7 separate regions of the Homo sapiens genome follow, and regions 2, 3, 4, 5, 6 and 7 are each linked to region 1. Evidence: promoter capture Hi-C in 16 types of primary human blood cells and fetal thymus (Javierre and others, 2016). All regions are on one chromosome and are shown on one strand. Each heading gives the region's core, a stretch centred on a gene start or on the middle of the fragment in contact. The rest is flanking DNA. Distances are from core to core; before and after follow the strand shown. Region 1 holds the start of SLC25A53 (solute carrier family 25 member 53). Region 2 holds the start of BEX4 (brain expressed X-linked 4). Region 3 holds the start of BEX2 (brain expressed X-linked 2). Region 4 overlaps IL1RAPL2 (interleukin 1 receptor accessory protein like 2). Region 5 overlaps LL0XNC01-250H12.3 (a long non-coding RNA gene). Region 6 has its middle 4.1 kb from the start of RAB40A. Region 7 overlaps LINC02589 (long intergenic non-protein coding RNA 2589).

What was found. The method cuts DNA at HindIII sites, captures the fragments that hold promoters and counts their contacts. A CHiCAGO score of 5 or more calls a contact.
Region 2: the fragment with the promoter of BEX4 here is called in contact with the fragment with the promoter of SLC25A53 in region 1 in 8 of 17 cell types (monocytes, total B cells, M0 macrophages and 5 more); the score reaches 10.6 in monocytes.
Region 3: the fragment with the promoter of BEX2 here is called in contact with the fragment with the promoter of SLC25A53 in region 1 in 3 of 17 cell types (activated CD4 T cells, total CD4 T cells and fetal thymus); the score reaches 10.4 in activated CD4 T cells.
Region 4: a contact is called between a fragment that was not itself captured here and the fragment with the promoter of SLC25A53 in region 1, in 1 of 17 cell types (naive CD4 T cells). The highest score is 5.5, in naive CD4 T cells.
Region 5: a contact is called between a fragment that was not itself captured here and the fragment with the promoter of SLC25A53 in region 1, in 2 of 17 cell types (fetal thymus and naive CD4 T cells). The highest score is 5.4, in fetal thymus.
Region 6: a contact is called between a fragment that was not itself captured here and the fragment with the promoter of SLC25A53 in region 1, in 1 of 17 cell types (total B cells). The highest score is 7.2, in total B cells.
Region 7: a contact is called between a fragment that was not itself captured here and the fragment with the promoter of SLC25A53 in region 1, in 5 of 17 cell types (total B cells, naive CD8 T cells, fetal thymus and 2 more). The highest score is 8.2, in total B cells.

What each region holds. Positions count from the first base shown.
Region 1 is chrX:104,154,481-104,158,777 of GRCh38, forward strand. SLC25A53 (solute carrier family 25 member 53) reads right to left here and starts at 2,529. Exons shown (of 2, transcript NM_001012755.5): 1 at 2,398-2,529. It also overlaps a transcript of FAM199X not described here. RefSeq lists an enhancer at 2,303-2,602. The HindIII fragment of the contact is 6,927 bases long and covers 1-2,739 here.
Region 2 is chrX:103,212,946-103,217,242 of GRCh38, forward strand. It overlaps BEX4 (brain expressed X-linked 4), which reads left to right and starts at 2,163. Exons shown (of 3, transcript NM_001080425.4): 1 at 2,163-2,293; 2 at 2,737-2,819; 3 at 3,204-4,297. The coding sequence starts at 3,209. The coding sequence ends at 3,571. The HindIII fragment of the contact is 8,756 bases long and covers 1-2,522 here.
Region 3 is chrX:103,308,934-103,313,230 of GRCh38, forward strand. It overlaps BEX2 (brain expressed X-linked 2), which reads right to left and starts at 2,057. Exons shown (of 3, transcript NM_032621.4): 1 at 1,927-2,057; 2 at 1,425-1,500; 3 at 413-1,048. The coding sequence starts at 1,043. The coding sequence ends at 657. RefSeq lists a silencer at 1,793-1,882. The HindIII fragment of the contact is 10,238 bases long and covers 1,694-4,297 here.
Region 4 is chrX:104,909,384-104,913,680 of GRCh38, forward strand. The region is part of intron 2 of IL1RAPL2 (interleukin 1 receptor accessory protein like 2); the gene reads left to right. Among named protein-coding and RNA genes, the nearest start is that of TEX13A, 310 kb to the right of the region's middle. The HindIII fragment of the contact is 716 bases long and covers 1,734-2,449 here.
Region 5 is chrX:103,477,847-103,482,143 of GRCh38, forward strand. The region is part of intron 4 of LL0XNC01-250H12.3 (a long non-coding RNA gene); the gene reads left to right. Among named protein-coding and RNA genes, the nearest start is that of RAB40A, 39 kb to the right of the region's middle. The HindIII fragment of the contact is 607 bases long and covers 1,724-2,330 here.
Region 6 is chrX:103,521,413-103,525,709 of GRCh38, forward strand. No RefSeq gene overlaps it. Among named protein-coding and RNA genes, the nearest start is that of RAB40A, 4.1 kb to the left of the region's middle. The HindIII fragment of the contact is 1,025 bases long and covers 1,619-2,643 here.
Region 7 is chrX:103,547,122-103,551,418 of GRCh38, forward strand. All of the region lies in intron 1 of LINC02589 (long intergenic non-protein coding RNA 2589), which reads right to left. Among named protein-coding and RNA genes, the nearest start is that of LINC02589, 5.7 kb to the right of the region's middle. The HindIII fragment of the contact is 5,054 bases long and covers 1-4,297 here.

The sequences.
Region 1 (4,297 bases), core at 1,279-3,778:
GTATATATCCAAAGAATTTGAAATCAGTATGTCGAAGAGATATCTGTACTCTTATGTTCATTGCAGGATTTATCACAATAGCCAAGTTATGGGATCAACCTAAGTGTCCATCAGTGGATGAACAGATAAAGCAAATGTGCTATACATACACAATGAAATATTATTCAGTCTTCAAAAATCAGGAAAATCTGTCCATTGATGAGCCTGGAGAACATTATGCTAAGTGAAATAAGCCAGGCACAGAAAGACAAATACTTCATGTTCTCACTTGTATGTGGAATCTAAAACAATGGAACCCACAAACACAGAGAATAGAATGGTGGTGATATTTCAAAATTTCATATTCCAAAAGAGCTAAGAGTACATTTCAAATGTTAGCACCACAAAAAAACTATTAAATTCCATGTTGAGTCATTTTTGTGTAAAAAAAGATAAAATTTTAGGTGATGAATATGTTATTTACCTTGATTTAATCATTCTACATTGTATATATATAAAATACCACTTTGAACTCTATAAATGTATACAATTTGTAAATATACAATAAAATTATACAAATATAAAAATAAAAAGATTTTCTAAGCAGTGTCAAATAAGTCCATTTTATTTCATATCTACTGTGTCTGAATTCAGACATGCCTGACGTTTAGGAGTGTGCCTAGCCTTCCCTAGGGGAGATATTCTTTTTTTTTTTTTGAGACAGAGTCTCACTCTGTTGCCCAGGCTGGAGTGCAGTGGCGCAATCTTGGCTCACTGCAACCTCTGCCTCCCGGGTTCTAAGAGATTCCAGGAGATATTCTTTCCAATTTATTGTCAGCTCCGTTTAGACCTATAGTTCTCCAAGTATGGCCCCATGTCCAGGAGTATCAGCATCTCCTGGGAACTAGTTAGAAATGTAAATTCGGGGGTCCACTCCTGACCAACTGTAGGGGCAACTCTGTGGATGGGACCTAGCAATCTTGGTTTTAAGAAACGCTCCATCTGATTCTGATTCACAGGAAAGTTTGAGAGCCACTGACTTAGACTGCTATACTGTTGTTTCTCTGGTAAACAAAGAGGCTTCTTTTCTTGTTCAGAGAAATATTGCTTAGGATTTCTGGTGGGTGCACAATTCCCTGCTGTGAACCGAGTTTGCTGGAAAACCAAGTAACTAGCACCTCCATCGTAGTCCTACCCAGAGCTTGCAGGCTTTGCACTCACGTAAGACTGATTCTTCCAGAGGCGCCTGGAAGTCCCATTGTGATGGGCAAATGCTCTTACCAGAAATAAACTAGTTGTGGGGACCGGGCGCGGTGGCTCATGCCTGTAATACCAGCACTTTGGGAGGCCGAGGCAGGCGGATCACTTGAGGTCAGGAGTTCGAGGCCAACCTGGCCAACATGGTAAAACCCCGTCTCTACTAAAAATATAAAAATATAAAAATTAGCCGGGAGTGGTGGTGGGTGCCTCTAATCCCAGCAACCCGGGAGGCTGAGGCAGGAGAATCACTTGAACCCGGCAGACGGAGGTTGCAGTGAGCGGAGATCACGCCACTGCATTCCAGCCTGGGCGACAGAAGTAGAGAGACTCCTTATCAAAAAAAAAAAAAAGAAAGAAAGAAAGAAAAAAAAAAAGAAATACACTAATTTTGGGCCTTAAATGCTACTCAGTTCTCCAGTTCACCTCAACAGGGAGGGAAGGTGCTTGGAGGAAAATTGCACTTCGTTTTTGCCCTGCTTATTTTGTCTTCAAAATATATGTTAAATCACCGCATCAAAGAGCCGTCCCAGATCTCAACTCCCAGATGAGTTCGGTGGCACCCAATAGATTTTCATAACACAGGATCTATCTCTGTCTCCTTGTATTGTAATAGCCTGTCTCCAAATGCAGATAGCAACCGGCAGGCTGTAAATGTCGAGGAAAAAGCCTAATTCCTTTCCTCATCCGGAGCCTCTAGTGCAGTACCCAGCACAGAGCAGGTACTTGGTATTTTGGTAAGGGAAATCAATCAACGCATCAATAGCAGAATCTGAAACCAGGGACCTAGATCTTTCCAATAAAATCATCCTGCTGAGATGTGACTCAGATGTACTGGTGCCCAGCAGACAACACGTTTTCGCCCTGATTTTATCCTCCATTCATCCGTCCGCCCCCTCCCCCATAGACCCCGCCTGTCCCCAGCTAAAAATAATGAGGGGATTCACACATCTCAGTGTCAACACACACAACACAGTTGACACGCCCCTTAATCCTACAGCTACGCCATCAATTCTCGCCGCCGGGTCCGTCCGCTTGTCAGTTTCCCCTACTCCTCATCCCCTCGCAACTTCTGATCCCCTATCACTTCCGTTCCCGTTTGCCTGCTAGGCTGGAAGCAGGATGTGTCTACGCCCTCAGCCCATAAGAAGTGCTACAAACCTCCGCCTCGCTCGCTGTCATGGCGGCGACCGACGGCCCCTTTCCTGTGGCCTCAGAAAGCAGCGACAGTCGCAGTCACCGGACCTTCGCCCATCCGCCGCCCTCACTTAAGCGACGCACAACGGAGCTCCCACAATCCTCTTTGCTTCCGCTCTCTTTATTTCCGCCTCCCCCGCCCCCGCCTCGACATTAACCGTTTCGCGACTACGTCAGTTGGCCGGTCTGTTTGGGAGAGCCAGGCGACTAATCTGGTATAGAGACCGAAAAACACAGGTAAAAAGACCTAAAAGACTTAGTCATCTATTGGAACATTTCCCCAGTTTGTTTGTAAGTTGGCTTGCAAGCTTATCAGTCATTCTCAAACAGGAGCTTAACTTACTTAGGTGAACAGTTCATGATGACGCCTTTAAGCTGCTAGACCAACCCAAACTCCGAATTTGCAGTTTCTGACCTTTCACCTTGAACCTGTGCCCTTTCTACCCTCTATTCTCCATCTCCTTTTGGTTCTTGTCTGACTCTTTAGCTGCATATGTAAAGAGCACAGACTTTGAAACCTGAGCTCCCGCGTTCGAATCCCCACTGTACCACTATCTAAACATGGCATCTTGGGCAAGTGATTCAAGCATGCTATTCCTTGGCTTTTTCATCTGTAGAATTGGTATAATAATAGTACTTACCTCCAGAGTTGCAGTAAAAATATTAAAATTTCACATGTGAGGAGCACCTAGAACATTGCCTATCATGAAGTTAAGCAGTATATTGAAATATAAATTATAATGATTGAATTTGATCTCACCTAAGACCTCTGGCTAATAAATAATAAATGATAATAATCATTTCACCTGGGATAGAGGGGATTGCCCTGTTCTCTCCAGGCTGAGGCTGTAATACCTGATTCTAGGGACTGCTGATATGGAAATTACTACCACTCTGGCTGGAGTCAGAAGAGTATATTAAAGAGTCTCTTTGTACTGTCCTAAAATAAGCAAAATCCAACGTTTGCAGTTCTATGGACCACGCACTATGATAAGTGCTTTAAACCCATTTTGTTGTTATTGCTTCATCCTCACAATAGCCCTTTGCTGGTTCTTAAGTGTATTACCCTTTCCTGTCCTCTTTGTCTGCTTAAAGCAGCTAAGAAAACTCAGATTAGTCAGATTGCATATAAATCAATAACTTGCCCACGGTCACAGAGCTAATAACAAATAGAGCCAAGACTTAAACTCAGATACATTCAGATGTGTCTTGGTATTTCTCAAATATCACTGAGAAAAAGGCCACCATAAATTCTTTTCAAGTGCTCTCTCTCCCCCAACTCCCCACCCCAAGAATTGCCTGAATGCCCATACAGAAAGACTAGGTTCTCTTCAGAAGCAGAAGGGCAGAACCCACTAAGGCAAAGATCTCTCCCTTGAAGGCTGGCAGCCAAGGAGGTGACTATAGTAGGAATTGGCATAACCAGCTCACTCATTGCCCTCCACTGTGCCACACAGGCCCCATTACTTCCTATAGTACTGAAGACCACTGGGGATAAAGGTACAGGGCCTTCACCTCATCCCACCGTTCTGTAAAGCTTGGATATTAGCAAAGATCTTGCTTATTTTAGGACAGTACAATGAGACTCTTTAATATACTCATCTGACTCCACCCAGAGTGGTAGTAGTAATTTCCATATCAGCAGTCCCTAGAGTCAGGAATTACTGCCTCAGCCTGGAGAGAACAAACCAATCCCCTCTGTCCCAGGTTAAAACAAAACAGGAATTCCCTCTGTTCCTTCAGAATGTACGGTACCCAGGATGTTGTTATTCTTGCTCCACACCTACCCACTCTCACTTCCCAACTTATCATCAGGCAGTCCACAATGGTTTTTTCAGGGGAAGGATTGGTGATGGTGAAGGGA
Region 2 (4,297 bases), core at 913-3,412, 940 kb before region 1:
CGGGACCAAAGTTGCGTGCCACCACACCCAGCTAAATTTGTGTGTGTGTATGCGTGTGTGTGTGTGTGTGTGTGTGTGTGTGTGTATGGAGATGGGGTTCTCCCTATGTTGCCCAGGCTGGTCTCAAACTCCTGGGCTCAAGCAATCCTCCTACCTCAGCCCCCCAAATTGCTGGGATTACAGGCCTGAGCCATACAACTCACATTTTACCTCTTCTCCAGGGAATTGTTCTCTGCCAAATGGGAGCCACCTTGCTCCAGAGACTATGCTCTGCTCCACCTACAGACTTTGATCTGTGACTGACGCTGAGCTACAAAAAGCCAGTGACTTACTGTCAACGTGGGATGACTTGTGTGTGCTTCAGAGTTTTCAGGTGCGATTAACTAAACTTAATCTCTAGTTAAACCCCATTCTTCATCACTGCCCTGCTCCCCAGCCCTGTCCTGCTGCCTTTACTTCCTTTAACCTGAGAGAGCATTACAAGAAACTACATTCATAAGGATCTCTGTTCCAAGTTCTGCTTCTAGGGAGCCCGACCTAAAATAGGAAGGGTCTCTTTATAGAAATATTTCAGCTAAAATCCCAAAAAGAGGAAAACAGAAAGAGTCTTTGCTTTCCCTTGGACAAACTTGAATTGAAATTGAACCCAAATTCCAGGATGCTTTTCTAGAATTAGTTACCATCTTATAGGAACCACAGAGTAAAGAGATAATGTGTTAATGACACCACTGAGATCCAGACTGTAGGAAAATACAGAACAAATGACTATTTCATCAATAATTAAAGAAAAAATTAAAAAATGAAAACCCACAGATTAAAAGAAATTTAGGAAATTTGGCAACCAATCAAAATGCGCATATCTTATTTGTATCTTGATTCAAACAAACTGTTAAAAAAAACTATAATACAATTGGGTATTTGAACACAGATTAGACATAAAATGATATTAAGGAATTGTGAATTATTAAATGTGACAACAGTATTGTGGTTATATGCTAAAAAGAAGAAAACCCTTATCTTGTAGATACATACTTTGAAATATTTATGCCTAAAGTGATATTATGTCTAGAATTTGCTTCAGAAATAATTTTAAGGTTGGGAAGCGGGTAAGATAAAGACGAAATAAGATTGGCCATGAGTTGTTAACTGTGGAATCTGAGTGAGGACTAGTACATGGGGTTTGCATTATACTATTCCATTTTTCCAAATGTTCGAAATTTTCCATTAAAGTTAAGATAAAGTTAAACTATAAAGACTGTTTCTTAAACAAAAAAGGGGCCGGGCGCTCACGCCTGTAATCCCAGCACTTTGGGAGGCCGAGGCGGGCGGATCACGAGGTCAGGAAATCCAGACCATCCTGGCTAACACGGTGAAACCCCGTCTCTACTAAAAATACAAAAAATTAGCCGGGCGTGGTGGCGGGCGCCTGTAGTCCCAGCTACTCGGGAGGCTGAGGCAGGAGAATGGCGTGAGCCCGGGAGGCGGAGCTTGCAGTGAGCCGAGATCGCGCCACTGCACTCCAGCCTGGGCGACAGAGCGAGACTCTGCCCCACCCCCCAAAAAAAGGAACAGAACAGAAAGGTATTAAGAAGAATTAGAAAAAAAATCCACTGTCCTTGACTCATTTCCTGTCCCCCCCCAAACGTTCTGGTGTGGAGAAAAGGATGAGCATTGGTAACAAGTACCACAGTTTGCCATTGGGGTGGGCGGGACTGATGCTCTCTTTATTTAAATTTTTGACATCTTGCTCATCATAAATTTTCTTGCAATAATTGTTTTTTAAAATGTTGCATTAAAATGTTATTTTTCTTGACTGCTGAGGAATTTTGCACCCCTTTAAATTCTGCGCCCGCGTCCTGGTTGGGAGATGTGGGGAAAATCCTGGGAGCCCAGGACAGGGAGAGGCAAGTCCCCACAGAAGTGGGAATGGCCAACAGCTCCCTGAGAAGACAGCTTCCCTCTTGGGGAGGCAGAGGAAGTCCCAAGAATACACAAAGACAGGAGAGTGGAAGGGCCGGCCAGTCTGGAGATACTAAAAGAGACTCCGGATGAGGATAGGGGCTGACCCGAAAGCCCCGCCTGACTCCGGGCTGCAGGAGGGGGCGTGGGACGGGGGCGGAGCCGTTGGCGATGACAACAGCCCCACGTGACCGGCCAACACTGAGTGTTGTCTCGCTCTGGCGTCAGAGCCGTCGTGGCTCGTTCCATTCTCGGCGGTGGTACCTGCTCCCGGTGGCCCTGAGGACGTGTGGGCCAGGGGCGGCCCCGAAATTAGGAAGCGGAGGGGGAGCAGGTAAGGAACCCGGCGGGGGGTCCCTGGGGTTGGTGTGAGGGAGTGGCTCCGGCCTGCGGATGCCCACCCCGGGGGAGCCGTGCGGAGAAGCAATCGGTCCGCGATGCAGCCCCCGGGCCCCGCGGCGGGCCCGCGAGCCTTCCTTGAGCGGAGAGGTGCCCGGCCCGGAGGGAGCCGGCGGTCCTGGGGCTACGACCCTTCGGAAACACCTGCCTACGCCATCAGCGCAAGCTTTTCCGACACCCCTGCCCCGCACTTCTTGGTGCAGAAAATGGTGGTCAGCTTGCGGGGCGGGGCGGCTGAGGCGGGGGGCGAGGGTGGCGAGGAGGGCCAGGGCCAGGGCCAGGGCCAGGGCCTCGGGGCGGGGCGGGGGAGGGGCCGGATGGCGGTAGTTCCTAGCTAGCGTTCTGCTGCAGCAGCCCCCACTTCCCCCACCCCGGCAGTCTGCAGGTCTGCGGGGCTAAGTGTCGCGGCGGCGCACCTCGCGTCAAGAATCCGGAGGAGGAGACTGCAAGGATAGGCCCAGGTCGGTGCGAGGGTCGGTGGTGAGGCGGGGGCCGGAACGTGAGGAAAGCCCAGTCTGAGACCCTAATCCATGCCTTCACCCTCGCCCCCCTCTACCCCATGCAACCCTCCCCTTCCCACACGCCATCCTCGTCCTCCATTTTGCTGCCTGCGGAAGCCTGGAGATGGATCTACAGGGAAAATGGTGGGCTTTGCGGAAGGGAGGGGCTCGGATTGAGGGCACCCCACAGGGCATACTGGCTTCTCAGGTGGAAAAAAATGAAATGTTAGAGTATAAAGTCAAGTCCAGGGCTCTGAATTTTAAAAGGTGCCTAGTAGGGCCTCTGTCCTCAGTGCTTATCAGTCCACCAAGAATTCAGCCCATTTTCTCTCTCTTGTCTCCTAGGAGTAATGGAGTCCAAAGAGGAACTAGCGGCAAACAATCTCAACGGGGAAAATGCCCAACAAGAAAACGAAGGAGGGGAGCAGGCCCCCACGCAGAATGAAGAAGAATCCCGCCATTTGGGAGGGGGTGAAGGCCAGAAGCCTGGAGGAAATATCAGGCGGGGGCGAGTTAGGCGACTTGTCCCTAATTTTCGATGGGCCATACCTAATAGGCATATTGAGCACAATGAAGCGAGAGATGATGTAGAAAGGTTTGTAGGGCAGATGATGGAAATCAAGAGAAAGACTAGGGAACAGCAGATGAGGCACTATATGCGCTTCCAAACTCCTGAACCTGACAACCATTATGACTTTTGCCTCATACCTTGAATCCTAAAAGTTTTCGCTGAGGTTAATGTGAACACTGCTTTACAAGCTTGTATTTTTGTGATTTACTTTTTCTGTAAGCCTTTTGGGGTTTACACTTACCAGTTTCTAATGGAAATTAGAATTCTAATTGAATATTGTTTTGTCTCAGCCTAAAAGTTACGGTCAGCATGGCAATTCACCTATTTTAGGAAAAATACTCTTTTCATAATATGAAATGCATAAAGCAGTTCAAAAAGCAGTCTGTATTCCATCATCTTCCTTTTTCATTCCAGTCCTTATTTTTGTAAGTATTACTTTTCCTCCTCCGGCTACCTGGACTCAAAATCTCAGTTGTCTTTGACAGTTTTTTTCTTGTCCCTGACCAAAAAAGAATGATCATACCCAGAATTCAATGTTTGATATTTTAAGAATGTATGTTCTAGTGTTTTTCAGAGTGAGTCTACCATCTGTATAAAAACACCTTGGGGGCAGGCAGGGGCATTTAAAAATGTAGGACCTATCGTCCAGACTCACAGAGTGGGGCTCCAGAATCTCCATTTTTAACAAACTCTCTTAAGTAATTCTGATGTGTACCAAAATCAGTGCCATTGGTGTGTGTGTACGTAACTATATACATATGTGTGTGTGTGTATATATATAATGTGTCATAACCGTAAACAATAAACAATATCAAGATAAATCTGACTTTGATGGGCAAGTAATTAAAAAAGAAAAGTATGAGACCTT
Region 3 (4,297 bases), core at 807-3,306, 850 kb before region 1:
ACAACCTCATTACCTTATCTGGTCCATACAACAAGCCTGGGAGGTGATTGTCTTCATCTTACTGATAAATATTATTATCTTCAAAGAGATGTGTCTCTTACATTTCTAAAAAGAGAACCCAGAGGCAAGCTAAAATTGAGATTCTGTCACAAGTGTTTAGTAAGTGCTCACATCGCTTTTATAAGGTGGTCACATTGCTTTTTATCAGTAATACGTGTTCCATTTTGAAAAATAAGAAATTATGGGTAAGCAAGAATAAACTCCCTCTTAATTCTACCACAGAGATAAACACTATTTACTATATATATGTGTGTGTGTGTATATATATATATATATATATATATATATATATATATATATATGACTGTTTAGGTGCATGTTTAAGATTTAAAGTAAAAAAGAATGCAGAGAATGCTTTTTAAAACTGTTTTATTAACTTCACAATATATAATGAGCATCTTTCCATGCAATAGGTAAAACTCTCCTGCTGACAGAAACTTACAAACTGGGTCAAAAACAACATTCATTTAGAAGCTGGTAATAGGAGACCCACAAGAAATAGGTAACATCAAAACGTTTACGACAAAGGTACACCACAAATGTGTAAGTTTAGGAAGCAGGGGTCTCCCTATTAACTTCAGGGAAACCATCAGGATTCAGGGCATAAGGCAAAACTCATCGTGATGGTCATGGTGAGGGGGATCAGTGCTGACTGCCCGCAAACTATGACTCAACTGCTTTTCCCTCAGCTTTTCCATCAGCTGTCTCACCTCCTCCCCAATCCTTTCCATATTCTCCTCTCTCATCCTTGCCTGTGGCTCTCCAAGCCTATGCATTATGTCCCATCTATACTGCAGGATGGGCTGCCTAACGCGGAACCGCCTACGGTTTCCTCTAGGCACACAGTATTCACTAACATTCAAAGGTAGGGCCAAGGGCTCCCCTTTATTAGCAACTTGCTCCTTTTCATCTTTTTCATCATTTTCCTGGTTGACATTTTCCACGATGAGATTGTTTAACGCTCGTTCCTCTTTGGACTCCATTACTCCTAGGAGACAGAGAGAAAATGGACTCAATTCTTGGTGAACTGATCAGCACCGAGGACAGAGGCCCGACTACCCACCTTTCAAAATTCAGAGCCCTGGATTTCAAAGGCCTTTTTTAAATTTCATTTTTTTTCCACCAGAGAGGCCCCATGTACCCTCGGGGGGGCGAGGGGAGCCAGTCTGTGCCCTTCTCTCCCGCAAAGCCCACCATCTTCTCTGCAGATCCATCTCCAGGCCTCTGCAGGCACCAAAATGGAGGACGAAGAAGGGGTGGGGGTGGGGGATTGCTAAGTGTGGGGGTGAAGGCACGGATTGGGGTCTCAGACTGGGCTTTCCTCATGTTCTGACCCCCTCCCCACCACCGTCCCTCGCACTGACCTGGGCCTATCCTTGCAGTCTCCTCCTCCCGATTCTCGACGTGAGGTGCGTCGCCGCAACACTTGGCCCCGCAAACCTGCAGACGGCCGGGGTGGGAAGAGTGGGGGCTGCTGCAGCGGAACGCTAGAGAGGACCCGCCGCCACCCGGCCCCTTCCCCACGCCGGGCCCGGGCCCTCCTAGCCGCTCTCGCCCCCCGCCTCAGCCGCCCAGCCCCCCAAGCTGACCACCATTTTCTGCATCAAGAAGGGCGGAGCAGGGGTGTTGGAAAAGCTTGCGCTGGTGACGGAGGCAGGTGCTTCCGAAAGGTCGTAGCCTCAGGATCGCCGGCTCCCGCGGGGCCGGGCACCCCTCCGCTCACACAAGGCTCGCGGTCCCGCGGCGGGGCCCCGGGGCTGCATCGTGGACCGGCTGCGTCTCCGCGCTGCTGCCCGGGGATGGGGCATCCGCAGGCCGGGGCTGCTCCCCCACACCAACCCCAGGGACCCCCTCCGGGTCCCTTACCTGCTCCCCCTCCGCTTCCTACTTTCGGGGCCGTACCTGGCCCGCACGTCCTCAGGGACACCGGGAACAGGTACCACTGCCGAGAAGGGAGCGAGCGACGGCGGTTCTGACGCCACAACGAGGTAAGACTCAGTGTTGGCCGATCACGTGTGGCTGTTGTCATCGCCAGAGGCTCCGCCCCCGTCCCACGCCCCCTCCTGCAGCCCGGAGTCAGGTGGTGCTTTCGGGCCCGCCCCCATCCTCACCGGGAGTCCCTTTTAACATCCCCAGCCTGGGCTCTGCCACTCTTCCTTCTCTGTATATTCTTGAGACTTCCCCTGCTTGCCCAGGAAGGACGGAAGGTATCTTCTCAGGGAGCTGTTGGCCATTCCCACTTCTCTGGGGACTTGCCTCTCTCTGCCCTTGGCTCCCAGGATTCACCTCCTTCTGCCTGTCTACCTCCTTCTGTCCTCCTACCAATATTCTCCGTTTTCTCTCCACTAAAATGAGTGGAAGAGGTGTATCAGGAAAGGAGCACAAGAGAGTAGGCTTTTCTCATTCTTAATACCTTTTCTGTATTATTTCTTTTGTAAAACACAAAAAATTAATATACTTCTTTAAAAAGGAAAAAAAGTTATTTTTACTTGAAAGACGGGATTAAAGTTGGGCAAAATGTCCCAACCACCTGTCCTGTTAAGTCATTATATAAATATAGACTCTACACGCAGCTGCTTTTTTAGAACTTGGAAAAGGACAGGGCAGCTGATGGCTCCCCTTTTGAGGGGCCCCTGGACACATGAGGCCCTTCTATGAAATGAGCTAGTGAGTTGTAGTGCTACAGAACCTTGTTGGGTTTTCATAACTAAAAGGAAAAAAAAGGCCTTTTTCACAAATTTCTGGTTCAAACGATAAGTATGTCTTTATTTAAAGATCAAGTAATCATGTATTTAGGAAATCCAGAGACATCTACGGTAAACCTACTATAGGAGTAAGAATTGATTTTAAGAAGGTTGCAGCTACAAGATAAATATTACAAACGTACTCATAAATTTATTTGAAAATGCAAAGGACCTAGAATAGACAAATAATTTTTTTAAAATATCCTACAAATCTTGAGAGTTACATTATATTATTTCAAGACTTAAGGTGTAATAATAAAGTTAGTGTAGTAGTAAACATAGACCTGTAGATCAATAGAACAGAATAGACTCCAGAAATAGACCCATACGTATGTTGTTAATTAGTTTTTGACAAAGATATCAAAGTAATTCTATATGGAAAGTATAGTCTTTTAAACTAATGGTGCTGAAATAACAGAATTCTTAAAGGAAAAAAAGGAGCCTTGCCTTTTATTTATACTATACACAAATTAATTCAAAATGGATCCTAGGCCTAAATGTAAAAGCTCAAATTAGAAAACTTCTAGAATAAAACATACAGAAAAACTTTACAATCTTTGAGAAAACAATTCCTTAGGACACAAAAAGAACAGATCACAAAAGAAAAAAATAAGAAATTGGATTTATCCAAATTAAAAACTTCTACCATTTAAAACACATGGTTAAGAAAATGAAGTGAGAAGCTGGGAGTAAATATTCACAGTATTTGTATCTGACAATGGTTTTGAATTCAGAGCATATATAAAGAACTTCGAAAACATAAAATAAGAAGGCAAATAATGCAGTAAAAATGATCAAAAGATCTGAATAAACATTTCACAAAACTACACACACAAATTACCAATGAGCTCATGAAAAGATGTTCAACCTCATTAACTATCAGGGAAATGTAAAATAAAGCCAGGATGAAAAATCACTGCACACCCATTATAATTGCTGAACTTAAAGTCTGACAGTCCCAAGCACTTTTGAAAATACTAAACAGCAGAAACTCTCACTGATTGTTGGTGAGAAGTTCAACCACTCTGAGACTTGGTGGCAGTTTCTTGAAAAGTTAGACTTACCATATGTCCTAGAAATTCCACTTTTCGGAATTTTCCCAACAGAATTTAAAACATATTTTCTCAAAAATATTTGCATAGGAATGTTCATAGAAATTTCCTTTATGATAGTCCCAAAGTTGATAAAAACTAAATGTCCAACAAGTGAAGTGATAAACAAATTGTGATGTATTCATACATTTTAACGCTGCTAAGCAATAAAAAAGTGACAAGCTACTGATACAAACAATAACATGGATGAATCTCAAAAAAATGAAAAAAATTTGTATCTATAAAGATACCAGCCACAATTGAGTGTTTTCTGCATGATTGCATTTATATAAGTTCTAAAACAGGCAAAACTAATCTGTACTGATATAAGTTGAATCAAATCAGTTTTTGCCTGGCTTGAAAGTTGAGGTTTTTGTGATTGCAAAGAGGCATAATGGAACT
Region 4 (4,297 bases), core at 842-3,341, 750 kb after region 1:
TGAGGAATTGCGTTCCTTTGGAGGAGGAGAGGTGCTCTGCTTTTTAGAGTTTCCAGTTTTTCTGTTCTGTTTTTTCCCCATCTTTGTGGTTTTATCTACTTTTGGTCTTCTATGATGGTGATGTACAGATGGGTTTTTGGTGTGGATGTCCTTTCTGTTTGTTAGTTTTCCTTCTAACAGACAGGACCCTCAGCTGCAGGTCTGTTGGAGTCCCCTTGCCGTGTGAGGTGTCAGTGTGCTCCTGTTGGGGGGTGCCTCCCAGTTAGGCTGCTCGGGGGTCAGGGGTCAGGCACCCACTTGAGGAGGCAGTCTGCCCCTTCTCAGATCTCCAGCTGCTTACTGGGAGAACCACTGCTCTCTTCAAAGCTGTCAGACAGGGACATTTAAGTCTGCAGAGGTTACTGCTGTCTTTTTGTTTGTCTGTGCCCTGCCCCTAGAGGTGGAGCCTACAGAGGCAGGCAGGCAGGCAGGCCTCCTTGAGCTGTGGTGGGCTCCACCCAGTTCGAGCTTCCTGGCTGCTTTGTTTACCTAAGCAAGCCTGGGTAATGGTGGGCGCCCCTCCGCCAGCCTCGCTGACGCCTTGCAGTTTGATCTCAGACTGCTGTGCTAGCAATCAGCGAGACTCCGTGGTTGTAGGACCCTCCGAGCCAGGTGGGGAATATAATCTCATGCTGCACCATTTTTTAAGCCTGTCGGAAAAGCGCAGTATTCGGTTGGGAGTGGCCTGATTTTCCAGGTGCCGTCCGTCACCCCTGTCTTTGACTAGGAAAGGGAACTCCCTGACCCCTTGCGCTTCCCGAGTGAGGCAATGCCTCGCCATGCTTCGGCTCGCTCACGGTGCGCGCACCCACTGACCTGCGCCCACTGTCTGGCACTCTCTTGTGAGACGAACCCGGTGCCTAGGATGGAAATGCAGAAATCACCTGTCTTCTGCGTTGCTCGTGCTGGGAACTGTAGACTGGAGCTGTTCCTATTCGTCCATCTTGGCTCCTCTCTAAATTATTCTTTAAGTTCTGTGGTACATGTGCAGAATGTGCAGGTTTATTACATAGGTATACACATGGCATGGTGGCTTGCTGCACCCATCAACCTATCATCTACATTAGGTATTTCTTCTAATGCTATCCCTCCCCTAGCCCCCTGTCCCCTGACAGGCACCAGTGTGTGATGTTCCCCTCCCTGTGTCCATGTGTTCTCTTCCTAATGTATTTTAAATACCTGAGTTTCCTTTTTGTGTATGGTCAGTACAGCAAACTTGAATTTCTAGAACCTGATATAGTGGTGTCTTGAGGTTTTTGTTTCTCTTTTGTTCCTAATAGTTTTTAAAAATTTTGTAGCTCTCTTCACTCCCACAGCACTCTACATATTCACGTGCACACCTAATTCATGAGCTCTCTATACAGAAAGAAATAATGGGAATGACTGGGAACATGCTATTAAATGGATATATTTTCAGATCTTCCTTAAATCATTTTCTTTGCAGCCTTCTACTTCTAAGACCGTATCATGAGGCTTATTGACACAAGGGAGAAAAAGACACATGCAAGTAATATTAGGAATGAAAAGGTAATATGATAGATATAACAGAGATTTGAATAAATCAGAAGAGATTAATATGAAGCAACCAACTTTATGCCAATAAAATAGAAAACAAATGATATGGACATATTAATAGAATGTATAATTGATCAACATTATCTCAAGAAAAATTAGAAAACCTTCATAAACCAATAAGCTTAAGCATATTGAATTGGTAATAAAAATTATCAACCTCCCATCTCCCGCCCAAAGACTCCAGGCTTATGTGATTAGATGATTTTATTGGAAAATTTTCTCTAACTGTCAAGAATTAAATGTTCCAAATTACATTAACAATTTCAGAAAAGGGAAAAAAGCTACTTAATTTACTTTATGAGACTAGCATAACCATCATAAAACCAGGAAAAGGCAGAATCTGAAAAGTATAGGCCAATCCTATTTATAACATAGGTGAAAATGTCTGAAACAAGAACCATTAGACAATTATTACTCAGGTACAAGCCCCAAGAGTCATCTTTCTTTCCTGTTTTCCTGCTTATACTCAATATCTAGTGAGTGAGGTCCTGTTGACTCTGCCTCTTAAACATATCTCAAATCTGTTCAATCTTCTTTGTCTTCACTACCACCATAGGCAAGTGAACAAATATCTCTTCCTGCAGTGGTCTCTGTTCACTCTCCACTCTTGCTCTTACTGCAGTACTTTTAAAATGTAAATCAGATGATGTCGTTCCTGCATCAAAATTCTCTAAATATTTTCCATGATGTATAGAATAGAATCCAAACCTCTCACCCTGGTCTACAAGTCCCTGCACTATCTGACATACAGCTTCATCACCATCTCTTGCTACTCTGCTCCTTGCTCACTGCACTGTAGACATACTGATCTTCTTCCTGTTATTTGAAGAGACCAAGCTTGTTGCCACCTCAGAGAATTTATATTTTCTGTTCCTTCTGTCTGAATTACTCTCCTGTAAGTGTTTGCAAATAAATCTTCTCCGTATTCAGGCCTTCACTCAAATATCGCTTTCTCAGAGAGGCCTTCCCTAGTACATCTCCCTGTTTCTTCATTTACTCTTCTTCCTACCTTTTACTCTGTATCCCATTAACCTTCTTATTTTGCTTCATAGTGCTTATCAGTATCCTCCAATAATCATTTTCAGATATTTTAGAAATGCATTGTCCTTCTATCTTTTATCAGCTGCAGGTGGACAGGGATTTTTTTTTTTCTTTTTTTCCTTTGTTTTGTTTTGTTTTGTTTTGTTTTGTTTTGCTGTATTTCTAACACCTAGAAGGCTGGGGAGGCACTAAATATATATTGCATGAATAAATCTAATGTAAACTTCCTTAAGTCACAGATGAGAAAACTGAAGCCCAGGGAAGGAATGTGACTTGATCAAGATTACTTGCCCACCTGGGAATAGAATCCTTTCTCCTGAGTTACAGTATGGTGCCCTTTCTGCTATACCACATGTTTTTATGTGCCTCTAGCCCCATAATTCTAGTTTCAAAAGGCAATCCCATCCTCTCCCTGGTGGACTAGTATAAGTATTAATTTATAGAGATGTTTATGAAGCATACTGCAGGCAAATCAATATGATAATGAGAGTTAGATATTGATACTATATTATTTTGTAGCTTTCCAATAGTGACTGTTTCATTTCAGGATTGCTTTCCTTTCAGAGGTAGGAAAAATACTTATTTTTAATGTGTGTGTCTATCAGCAAATATGGTAAAGCATGTTAAGGCCAAGCATGCTGAGCTGATGACATTAACTTATCCTAAATAAGTCTCACATGAGCCAACTGGTTCAGATTAAAGCCCCTTATTCACCATGATGCAAAGTACTTTTACAATAAAACAAAAACAAAACAAGAGATCACATAGCAAGGGTGTGTGTGCATACATGCCTATGTGCTGCAAGTTAATAAGTACATTGTGTAAGTACCATGAGACTGTGACTGTGCCAGTGGAGATACAAAAGAAGTAGCAGGCATAATCCTTATCATCAAGGATCTTACAAAATATAGTCTTGAAATTACTAGAAAATAGTTCTGATGCATTATATAAGCAAGGCAGGATAGTAAGAGTAAGACTGTATCTACCAGGGCCAGTGAGATACAGAATAAGAGAAAAATCACTATGAGGTAGAGTTAATCTGAACAAACAACACAGAGACTATGCAATCAAAACTATGGGTGGCCTGCCTTTTTACTTTTTGTGGCAAGACTCAGTATATATTGATATATCATTAAAAATCATTCATTTTGTTTGTATGCAGGCTGTTACCATCGACCACAGGAGACAGAGTTTTCTAAGACTTTAAAATAATTCTTGGAAGGTAATAAGGTCTGGTAGTTGCTTTCGATTTTCTAAGCAGAAACACAGTGTTCAAGTACCCTTTGTCTACATTCAGAATTGGGAGTAGGGATGTTTCCTGACACTGTGGAATATTTCACAAGGTTTCATCAAAATTTCAAAATATCAGTTTCTTCATGGTATATCACTTCAGGTCCCTGAGCAAACTGGAAGGGGTATGTTCTGTTTTGTTTGCTCTGGGTAGCCTATATCTCTGGAATGTCTGTTTCCTGTCAACTGCCACTAGAGGGAGGCTGATTAAGTGCATTTCATTTGTGAATGGAATTTTAAGCAACAGTAAAGGATTCTCACCAAACACACACAGCCCTTTCAGGCCTAATCCTACAAACCCAATTAAAGGTAATGGACACTCTATTTGATGAGGCAGTTCAGCTAAGCCAGC
Region 5 (4,297 bases), core at 777-3,276, 680 kb before region 1:
TATTAGTATCTCACATTTTCCTTGTGAATTGTAGCCTTTAGCATTATCAACTGTGCCTTTTTACCTCTTTAAATCCATTTTGGTCTCAATTCTACTCTCTCAAATATCAAGATTATAACTCCTGCTTTCTTGATATGGTCAATTGCTTGGTATATATTTACTTATTTTTAAACTGTTAACCTACCTGAATTCATTTGTTTAAGGTATATCTCATGAAAAAGCATAATTTTGGATTTTGCTTCAATGGGAAATTTACAAATACTTTAATAGGTGAATTAAGTCCATTTACCTTTATTCTTGTTGTTCCTGGAACCAAGCCAGGTCCGGCTGCATTTTCTCGAGGCCCAATAACAAGAAGCAGACAAACTAGGAAAGAAGAGAATTTATTACTGTAACTGGATACAGGGAGGAGGCCAGAGATAATTCCACCAGACCAACTCAAGGTGTTAAATTTTCTTAAGGCTTATATAGGTTGGGGTTATGTCCCTACGTGCAGTACGGCATTCGCCTAAGTCTATTGGTAACTAATTTTGTTTCAACTAGAAGGTCAGAGGCAAAAAAATCCTTGCTAAGTCTGATTAAAAGGGCCCCAGTACCTTCAAGGACTGTCTACTGTCGTACCAGAGTGATTGTTTCTATCTTGTCTCCTTTACAGCTTGGTCCAGAGAGCTGCCTTAGACTCTCTAATGAATCTGTTCAAACAGCTGCCTCTGTTACCTTGACTTCTCTCAGATTTTGTCGACCCGAGATGGGTCCTATTGTAAAACTGTGTCTATTATTTTGGCTTGCTCCAGCAAGGGAGAAGCCCACACAAGGCTCCTACTGACCATATGTGTCATTTCTAGCTTTGATGTCTGGGCAACAATTTCCCTAGGTTTAACTATTTGCTCAATGTTAAGGCAGCGCTGTGGAAATTTGTCTGTGTAACTGGGGTGCTATGCAGGCCTGTCTGTGTGACTGTCATGCAGGCCTGCCTATGTGATTGTCAGGGAGAATTGACTTGCCACAATATGATCAAAGTCTTTGGTCATTTAAGTTCAGTTCTGTAGTATTGTCTATAAATATAAGGAAATTATATAGCCTTTCACTAGGTCATGTGTTTGATTTCCTCTTCCTATTTATTTAGTAGTTAGCATGGTTATTGTTTTGTTTCAGTGGTTACTTTTATATTAAATCCTTAACACTACATCCTTGATATGGAATGAAGTCTTACTAATGAATAGAGAAAATAATATTAACAGATAATTCACATTAAAAAACAATTGTATACCCATTAAATTTTCAAAACTATGCCAGATTACAATAACTAAAGGACTGAAAACTAATATCCTAGGCTACCATGCTGAGTGAGAAAGAAAAATTGCTGAAACATACATATAATCTGATAACTTTGGGAAATAATATATATAAATGAGTATTTTGTGTAATACCCCATTCCTGCCTCTTGATAGCTGAATATGACCCTCTAGCAGTGAGTTACCCTTATTGAACCTGACCTTGCTAACCTATAAAATGGGCATAATGACATTTACTTCAGAGAGCCAAGAGGAGGAATGAGCAAACGTAAATAAAGCACATGGTACCTAATACTTCAACAAATATATGTATAATCTCCCTTATGTTCTCCCTCCCACAAGAGATGACTTAAACATCAACATCTCAAAGAGATCAATGGATTTGAACCATCAGAAAAAGAAATGCATACATATTTATATGACGTATAAGCTTTGGTGCTATTTCTTTCTAAGATGAGATACTGAGGATGGTGGAAATAAGGAAGCAAATTATAGCCTCATTACTTTTTATTTGTTGTGTTCTTCTCTTCTTTTTAAACTTCTATTTGGATGCTGAAATAGCAGCTTCCCACTGTGGGCCAGAAAGGAGACAGCACAGAATAACAGAACATGAAGATGGGTCTGCTGTGCAATGGACTGAAATCAGGAGACCTTGGCCCCCAATACCAGATCTGTCCTCGTGTACAGGACCATGGGGAGTCACTTCCCCTGTGTTGGTCTCTGTCCTTACACAGAAAAAGATTGTATACCTAATGGTTAAGGACGTGGGCATTGGCATCAGTAAAGTGAGGAGAAAATTGGGGCACATTTAATTACTGGTTTTATGATGTTTAGGAAATGTTGAGTCTCCAGATAAATGAAACTCATACATTAAATATGACTGCGTAGAGAATAAAACGGGAGGAACTGCACAAAAAAGGATACATTCTTCAAAATTAATGAGCGGTGGGTCGGTACTTAATTCTTTATCTCTTGACTTAACTATGTTTTCCACAATTTCTAAATTAGTATGGTTCTTTTTAAAAGTCAGAAGTAAGCTTCATTGAAACAGTTGTTATGAAATATTTCAGAAATACAAAAATTATAGAATGTAAGAGACATCCCTGTTCTCATGTTGACATACCTAATATTATATATGCAGTTGAAACTCACTTTGAAGACTTCTCTGATTGCAAGCCTCCTTCTTTCTCAGAGGTAACCACTATGCAGAATTCGGGTTTTAGATTTTAAAGACATTTCCCTATACTTTTATTACATATGCATATATCTGTAAGTGAGAATGGTATTGTTTTGTAGCATGTTTTTTCTATAGATGCCTGGCTACCTCATGGAAAAAAAGGAAAAAAAATGAAGAAACATGAGGAGAACAAACACACAATCACATTTCAACAGTGGGAGCTGCATGGCCTCCTTGTCATGTGTACTCTTGCAGACTTACTAAAACAGACATATCCATTTTCTCAGTTTATACGCTATAGGGAGCACAAACAACCTGTAGATACTGTTTTCAAATGCTTTTTCCCAGCGTGTTCAAAGTCTTAGAGTTTCTCTGGAGCTAACTGGCCTAAAACAATGTCTCAGTGTTTCCTGATATGAAACAACTTCCCATTTGTCTGGGCCAAATTATCTGTCTTTCATGCTCACTGTAACCCTTCAAGGCCTAATCCAGAACCTAATCTGGGCTATGCTGGTAAAAGATATGCCAGTCTACCACCCAAATCCCTTATTGGCTTAGGGGTGAATCTTATTTAGAACTTGATCTGATTTTGTGTTAGAATTGTTGGGTTTGTGTATATTTTCCTTCCTTTTCTTCTAATATTTTTAATTGCACAGGGAAGGTATTTCGCAAGTGTTTTAATTCACATGTGCTGATTGTTCCTGCAGTTCTTTGCTGAGTGAGACTGTGACTCAACTTTTACCCCAAACCCAGCTGTGTTAGGATCCTTCCTCTCTGGAAGCTGTGGTGCTGACCCCTGGGTGGTTTCATGCAGTCCCTCCCTCTTTCCCACCCCTGTGGCAGTCACTGCTTGGCTAACTAGGTGGGTAAACAGAGGAGCCTACTCTCCATTCAAGGGGCTTTCTTTGGGAGAGTGCAGAGAGAAGCATGCTGTGAAACTACTTTCATCTTGTGACCATCACTGAAATCCTGGAGAGTGGATTTCTGTGGATACTGACTGCTAAATGTAAGCTTCATTTGAGAGACATGTTGGCCCTTCTCCTAGGTGTCTGTAATTTCCCTGAAGCTGCCCAATTGGGGTTACCATGTGGATAGATTCATACATTAGTTCTGGGACCACCCTACTACTTAATTCCCTTGGCTTAGAGGTGTTCCCCATTCCAAAGCTGAACCGTCTTATGGGGTAGGGCTGGTGATATTTATTTTTTCCGATTATTATTTTCACCTCCAAAACCAAGACACTTTTGTTGTAGATAAAAATGGAAAAGTGAGGAAAGCAAAAAAAAAAAAAAATTAAAAACTAGTAAAAGTCTACTACTTATGGAGAAGCACTGTTAACAGTTGAATATATATACAGTCACGTGTCACTTAATGATGGGGATACATTTTGAGAAATGTGTTGTTAAATTGTTTCAGTGTGGTAATATCATGGAGTGCAGTTATACAAACCTAGCCTTCTACATACTTAGGCTAGATGGTACAGCCTGTTGCTCCCAGGCTACAAACCTGTACAGCATGTTACTATACTGAATACTGTAGACAATTATAACAAAATGGTCAGTATTTGTGTATCTAAACATATCTAAGCAATAATAAACAGTAAAATTATGGTATAAAATATACAAAATGGGGCCAGGTGCAGTGGCTCACACCTGTAATCCCAGCACTTTGGGAGGCCGAGGCAGGTGGATCACATGAGGCCAGGAGTTCGAGACCAGCCTGGCCAACACGGTGAAATGCTGACTCCACTAAAAATACAAAAACTAGCTGGGCATGGTGGCGGGTGCCTGTAATCCTGGCTACTTAGGAGGCTGAGGCATGAGAA
Region 6 (4,297 bases), core at 881-3,380, 630 kb before region 1:
GTACACTGAACACCACACATCATTGCTGAGAGAATTAAAGACCTAAATAAGTGGAGGACTTACCATGCTCATGGGTCACAAACAATACTGAGAAGATTCAGTATTGTTAAGATGTCAATTCTTCCAAAACTGATCTATAGATTCAGAGCAATTCAAATGGAAATCCTATTAAAAAATTTTTAAAGAAACCGACAGGCTGATTCTAACATTCATATGGACATGTAAAAGACCTAGACTCTATTAGTCTGTTCCCATATTGCTAAAAACAAACACATGAAACTGGGTGATTTATTTTAAAAAAGGGGTTTTCATGGCTTACGGTTCTGCAGGCTATATAGGAACCATAGAGGCATCTGCTTCTGGAGAGGCCTCAGGGAGCTTTAACTCATGGCGAAAGGTAAAGCGGAAGCAGGCGTTTTACATGGCAGGGAAGGTGCTACACACTTGTAAACAACCAGATCTTATGAGAATTCTATTATGAGAACAGAACCAAAGGGAGAAATCCACTCTCACGATCCAATCACCTCCCACCAGTCCTCATATCCAACATTGGGGATTACAATTTGACATGAGATTTGGGTAGGGACACAGTTCCAAACCATATCAACTATGAAGTACAACTTTGATAAAGAACAAAATTAGAAGACAAACACTACCTGATTTCAAGACTCCTTACAAACATACAGTAATCCAGACAGTGTGCTATTGGCATCAAGATGGATTAGTAGATCAAAGGAACAGAATAAAGAGTCCAGCTATAGACCCACAAGTATATGGACAACTGAGTTTGACAAAGATGCAATGGTGATTCAGTGGAGAAAGGATTATTGTTTCAACAAATGGTGCTGGGACAAGTGAATATTGACATGCACAAATATAAACTGTGACTCAGATATCACACTATATACAAAAGTCTATTCAAAATGGACCTGAGATCTAAATATAAAATTTGATGCTATAAAACTTCTAGCAGAAAAAAAAAAAACAGGAGAAAATCTTTTTGACAATGGGTCAGGTGAAGATTTCATAGATGAGACAACAAAACCACAATCTATAAGCAAAGAAATTGAAAAATTGGACTTCCTCAAAGTTAAAAACTTTAGCTTTCCAACTACATGGTTGAAAAAATAGACAAGTAAGCTGCTGACCGGGGTAAAATGTTTGAAAATTATATATTTAATAAAGGACTTGTATCCAGAATATGTTTAAAATCTTAGTAAGAAGAAAACACACACCAGTAAAGAAACAGGCAAAATATTTGAATAGACATTCCACTAAAGAAGACATACAAATATCATGTAAGCACAGGAAATGATGCTCAGCATCACTCGTTATAAGGGAAATGTAAATGAAAATTTCAATGAGATCCTACTAAACTCCTGTGAGAATTAAAAAAATTAAAAAGACAGATTATACCAAGCTCTGTCGAGGTTGTGGAGGATGAAACAGTGATACATTACTGGTGGTAATGAAAAATGGTACAAACACTTGGAAACAGGCAGTTTCTTACAATGTTAATCTTACATCTACCACATGATCCAGCCATTGCACTCCTAAGTATTTATTAGAGAAAGAAAGCCTATTTCCATGGAAAGACTTATTCACAAATATTCATAGAAGCTTTGTTTACAAGAGATCCTAATTGGAAATAATTAAAATATCCAACAACAGGTGAATGGATAAAAAATTTATGATATAGCCATATACTGGAATACTATTCAGCAATAAAAAAGAATGAACTATTGATATGTGCAACAAAATGGATACATCTAAAAATAAATTGGGTGAATGAAAGAAGCCAAACCAAAAATCAAAAACAAACGCAGAAAAACATTTCTACAATTCCATTTAAATAAATGTCTAGGACATAAAACTTAATCTATAGTGACAAAGTATTGTGTTTGTCTGGGGACAGGGCAATAGGAGGGATAGAGAGTCCTAGTAGTACAGAACTGAAAATCTTATGTTCTGGGAAACAATGATAATAATATTTAGGCCTAGCTGGTTATTTTAGGGGACATGACTGGGTATCATTATAATAGAGCAAATTATATGGAAATTATTATTTTTCAAAATATTGAACTTTTGTATCTGACATTTTGACAGTTTTAACTAATACTTTGTACATTTTTGCCTTCTTAAAAAATGTATTACAGAATGGATAATAACATGGTTACCATTGAAAAATGCATATTACAATCTCCAGTTGCTTGGAAGACCTTCTGACCAACTGTGTATTTCAATGCCCATCTGAGAGATACATGGGAATCACTGATCATTATTTATACAGGCAGAAAACATATGTAAATTTATTTCAAATACATGTTAAACATCAAGTTGATTCCCCAAATGAATTATTCATTGCTTTGTAACAACGAAAGGCATTTTAAACATGGGCCTCAAGGGCGGCTTCAAAGCACATAGCTGCTGATGAAAGGAAATTCCACATGCTAAACCTCTTCTCCAAAGATGGGATCAAAGGAGTTTCTCTGCTTTTAGACTATATTATAAACCTCACAGAGGTATTCCACAACATGCTTCTGTCCAGATCTATGAGCTCACTTGAGCCAGGCATCATATCCCACCAGGGATGGAAGTGTTGGGGGTCTCCTTAGGACTGCTGCCCTTCAAATCTGAAGTAGAAGCTTCAGCAGCCATCACGACCCAGATCCTCAAAGCCCATCTCCTTCATACACCTGTTATGAGTTCAATAACCTGATGAAGATCTGCACAGGGACAGAGAGAATCCAGCAATCACTGTGCTTTCTTAGAGTAACAGTGTGCCAGGAACCATCTTAGGCACTGGGTCAGTGACCAGTGACACTGATACAATTGGGTAGTGATCATTACAACCAGAAGATACAATGGGTTTCTCACCAGGGCCTTTTTCTCCTCCTTTCCTCCTCTATCTCCTAACAACAAATCTGTAAAGGACTAAGAAGAGGCCTGAATTCACACAGGCATTCCTGATCGTGCAGTAACCACAGGGCTATGGGCTTGCACCTGTGTTATCACTGCAGCTTGCAGCAATCCTGCGGGTTGGCATAATTATCCCCATTTTACAGAGGGGGACACTGGGCTCAGAGAGTCCTTACTTGTCTCATCCTCCCACGTCCCACCTTTACATAGAAAGTAGCTCCAGGACACCAGGAGCAGGACACCCCACTCACTGGGGCCAGGAGGGTCCTAGCTCTCTCCCTCATGAAACAGTGAGAGCAACTTGTTTCAAACTGGGAGTGAGGGGACTTAGATCTGGGATCCCTTCGTCTCCCCACATCCCAAGGCACTTCAGCCCCCACTGTGGGGCACTCACACCCTCAGTTGAGTCCCAAACACCTGAAGGCGGGACCCTGCTATTCTCACCAGCCCACAGGGGTCTCTATTAAAAGTCATCAAGGTCACAGTAATGACTTCTGGTTTCTATGGCAACCGTGGTGCTCAGGCTTGTCCTCCACATCAGAAATGCTTCTGCACAGCCCTCTGTCCCCTTGCCTTTCTCAAATAAATAAATAAATAAATAAATAAATAAATAAATAAATAAATAAATAAATAAAAACTTCACTCTTCCACTCTTCAGGCTACCTCCTGAGAAAGCTTACTAATTAGTGGAACTAGCCTCAGACAAGGGTGATTTGTGGAATTCTGCCCAGCTTGGTGAAACAAAGCATCTCCCCATTGGCAGGAATATTGTCTGCTTTAAAAGTGACAGTAGTTGAGTATCATCACTACACAGAGCTGCAGGGAGGTATCCTAGGGGCTCCTGGTGATGAGCTAACCTTCTGAGGATGATGTGTAAAACTTACACAACACACTAAGCAGTTAGCTATCTGTGGCAGAAGACTAAGAGACTGTCTATAATCATGTGTGTAAATGATGTAGGAACACCAAGAAATGTCATTTAAGATATCTCAGTTATTTCAGGGAGGCAGGCCTATAATAATGTAATCATTTAGTAGGCAGAAATCTAGTCAATTGAAACATACATTGGCTCATTTTGGGGAATTCTTATCCACCATTCTTAATATTTTCTTCCATGTGGAGAGACATCGATACCCAAAACACTTCTAGCCTCTTGATACGCTCACTCCTCTATCGCAGGAATGTCTCATCTAGTTGGTGGGTTTGGAAGGAGAAACAGGTTGCACAGCCCAGGTCCTCTCCCTTCAAAACTCTTGGTTGTAATCTTCACTTAACCAAGCATATGTTCTGCTCTGCCCTCAGGGGTGGGGCTTACAATAGGTCCACAGCTCTACTCTCCTGTGTCTCGCTGGCTCCCCAACTATTCCTATAGTCTTGC
Region 7 (4,297 bases), core at 961-3,460, 610 kb before region 1:
ACGATAGAATCAGAAAGAATAAAATACTTAGGATTAAATCTAACCAAGTAGGTGAAAGATCTATTTCACATTGGATAATTTGACCAAGGAGGTGATGCAATCCCTATCAAAACTCCCATGACTTTTTTCATAGAAAAAGAAAACACAATCCTAAAATTTATAAGAAACCACAAAAGACCCTGAATAGCAAAAGCAACCTTGAGAAAGAAGAACAAAGCAGGAAGCATCACATTCCCTGATTGCAAACTATAGGACAAAGATATAGTAATCAAAACAGCATGGTACTGGCATAATAAAAACAGTCACATAGACTAATAGAACAGAGTATAGCCGAGAAATAAGTTCACACATACAGGGTCAACTAATCTTTGACAAGGGCACCAAGAATACACAATGATGAAAGGAATGTGTCTTCAATAAATAGTGTTGGGAAAACTGAATATCCACATGCAAAAAAAAATGAAATTGGACCATTGTTTCATACCATATTCAAAAATTAATTCAAATGCATTAAAGACTTAAACATAAAATCTGAATCCGTAAACCTCCCAGAAGATGACATAGGGAAAAAGCTCCTTGACATGGGTCTTGGCAATTTTTTTTTGATATGACTCCAAAAGCAAAGGCAACTAAAGCAAAAATAAACAAGTAGAATTACATCAAACTAAAAAATTTCTGCATGGCAAAGGAAACAACAAAATGAAAAGGCAACCTATGGGATGAGAGAGAATATCTGCAAACCACATAGCTGATAAAGAGTTAACATCCAAAACATGTAAGGAACTCACACCATGCAATAGGAAAAAAAAAAAAAACCCAAACAACTCAATAAAAAATAGCAAAGAACCTGAATTGGTACTTTCCAAAGAAGATATAAAAATGGCCAACAGTATAGTGTAGGAAAAGGTGCTCAATATCACTAATCATAAGGAAATGCAAATCAAAATCACAGTGAGATATCACCACACAGCTGTAAGGATGGCTATTATCAAAAAGACAAGAGGTAACAGGTGTTACCAAGTATGTAAAGAAAAGGGAACTTTTGTACACTGTTGCTGGGAAAGTAACTTGGTACAGCCATTATGGAAAACAGTATGGAGATTCTTCAAAAAATTAAAAATTGAACTACCATACAATACAGCAATCCCATTTCAAGGTATATATTCAAAGGAAATGAAATCAGTATCTTGAAGGAATATCTGCATTCCCATGTTCATTACAGCATTACTCAAAATAGCCAAAATATGGAATAAACGTAACTGTTTATCAGTGAATGAATGGATATAAAAAATGTGGTGTGTGTGTGTGTATATATAATATGTCACATAATATATACATATATATATTATTCGGCCATAAACAAGAAGGAAATACCGCCATTTGCAACAACATGGATGAACCTAGAAGACATTAGCAGTGAAATAAGTCAGACACAGAAAGAAAAATATTGCATGATCTCACTTACATGTAAAATCTTAAAAGGTCAAACTCATAGAAGCTGAATAGAGCAGTGGTTGCCAGAGGCTAGAAAGTCAGGGAAATAGGAAGGTGTTGATCAAAGGGCATAAATTTTCAGTTTTAAGATGAACAAGTTCTGGGAATCTAGAATAAAGCATGAGTGGTGATGGATGTGTTATAATTTGATTGTGATAATCATTACATAATGTATAGGTATGTCAAATCTTCACATTGTACAACTTAAATATGTAGAATCTTTGTTAATGAAATATTTTTTAAAAAATAAAGTTTAATAATATTATCACTACTTGGTGTTACATTTCCAGATATTCTCTCTGGTAATCATGCTATTATGCTTTTGTTTTTGTTTTTGTTTTTGTTTTTGTTTTTGAGACAGAGTCTCATTCTGTCAACTAGGCTGGAGTGCAGTGGCATGATATTGGCTCACTGCAACCTCTGCCTCCCAGGTTCAAGCAATCTTCCCACCTCAACCTTCCAAGTAGCTTGGATTACAGGAGTGCACCACCATGTCTGGCTAATTGGGTTTTGTTGTTGTTGTTGTTGTATTTTTAGTAGAGTTGGGGCTTCACCATGTTGGCCAGGCTGGTCTCGAACTCCTGACCTCAGGTGATCTACCCACCTCAGCCTCCCAAAGTGCTGGGATTACAGGCATGAGCCACTGTGCTACTATGTTAATGTCAGTAGCATTACAATGACAGAATGAAGGCAAGTGGGAATGGACAACTAAAATTTGTTTAAGGCCTACTAGATGCTACACATGTGGTAGGTTGTAATTTTCAGACTTTCACTCTTCAAATCATCAGAGCAATGCTCTGAGGTTGGCATCCTTTTTACCTATGGGGAGATAGGCTCAGAGAGCAAAATACATGCTCCAGGAATTCTAGGAAGGCATCAAATGGACTGAGGTCAACTTGAGGGGCTTCCACTGGCCAATTCTGGAATAATTTGAGCATCAAATAAATATTTATAATAACAAATGTTATATCTTTGAGCAAAACAGGAATCTATGAATCACAGTAATATAAATAAATAGCTGGGTGTGGTGGCTCACACCTGTAATCCCAGCACTTTGGGAGGCCGAGACAGGTGGATCACCTGCAGTCAGTAGTTCGAGACCAGCCTGGCCAACATGGGGAAACCCCGTCTCTACTAAACATACAAAAATTCACTGGGCATGGTGGCGGGTGCTTGTAATCCCAGCTACTCAGGAGGCTGAGGCAGGAGAATAATTTGAACCTAGGAGGCGGAGGTTGCAGTGAGCCAAGATCGCGCCATTGCACTCCAGCCTGGGCGACAAGAGCGAAACTCTGTCTCAAAAAAAAAAAAAAAAAAAAAAACCATATATATCTAACAGTCAAATGTCAATTAATAAATCTAAACAAAGTGACAGAATTATAAAAGCAACCCTGACAACTATCACAGTAGTAAATGATTCAAGCAAGAATCGTAAATAGATTTTCATTCTGCACCAAATCCCATAGCAATCACTGAGTCACCATGGTAACCATGCTGGCCAGGGAAAGCTGGGAGGAAAAAACAAAACAAAACAAAAAACCAACCACCTCCTCGATCTTATTCCTAACATGTGCTAAGAACTGAATAGGACTGACATGATGCACAGTAATTAACCTCAATTTTTTCTCACAATAAACATTCCCGGCAGCTTCAGCAATATACACCTTCATACATACCTAGATACCCACATACATACATGCTCTCTCCCTCTTTTTCTCATCACCCAAGTATCCAAGAATTCATCAAGGTAGATTTGTTTGGGAGTATAAAAAGAAAACTCCACAATTAAAATCTACCCACACACAAAGTCAAGAGCTACAAAACTATTTTATTTTAGTAATTCATTTTTCTGGAGATGATCTTTAGAAAAATGTCTCAGTGACATTTTCTCCCTGGTTTCAGTATATTACCAATGACTTATAAAAGCTGATAGTGGAAACACTGGCAAATGTATGCTGTGATGACTAATTTTATGTGTCAACTTGGCTGGGTCATAATGCCCAGATATTTGGTCAAACGTTATTTTGGATGTTTCTGTGAGGGTGTTTTTGGATGAAATTTACATTTAAATTGGCAGACTAAGTAAAGCAGATTGCCCTCCCCAGTGTGGGTGGGCCTCATCCAGTCAGCTGGAGTCCTAAATAGAATAAAAAGCTGATATCCTCCAAAGAAGAGGGAATTCTGCCAGCTCACTCTTCAGATTTCATCTGTAATATTGGCTCTTCCTGGTTTATCAGTACACCGCCTTTGGACTTTAACTTCAACTCTTTCCTGAGTCTGAAGCCTGCTGGACTCCCCCATCAAATTTTGGACTCACCAAGCGTCCAAAATCACATACACCAGTTCCTTAAAATAAATATCTTTATATGTATATATATAAAGATACATATATAAAGATATATGGATATATAGATATCTTATTGGTTCTATTTCTCTGGAGAACCTTGACTAATACAGACATTAAGTATTAAGCATCTTTTCTATCCTAGAGTAGCCTGTGCTTTCAACCAAAAAGGTTCCCCAGCAGCTAGTATTAAACACTCAGCTTCTGACAATTCAGTAAAAATATAATACATTGAAATTGCAATTGAAAATACTACCATTAGGCCAGGCATGGTGGCTCATGCCTATAATACCGGCACTTTGGGAGGCCAAGGTGGGAGGATTGCTTGGGACCAGGAGTTTGGGACCCACCTGGACAACAAAGCAAGACCCTACCTCTATTAAAAAAATTTTTTTTAATTTTTTAATTAGCCAGGCATGGTGGCATGCACTTGTGGTCCCACCTGCTCGGTAGGCTGAG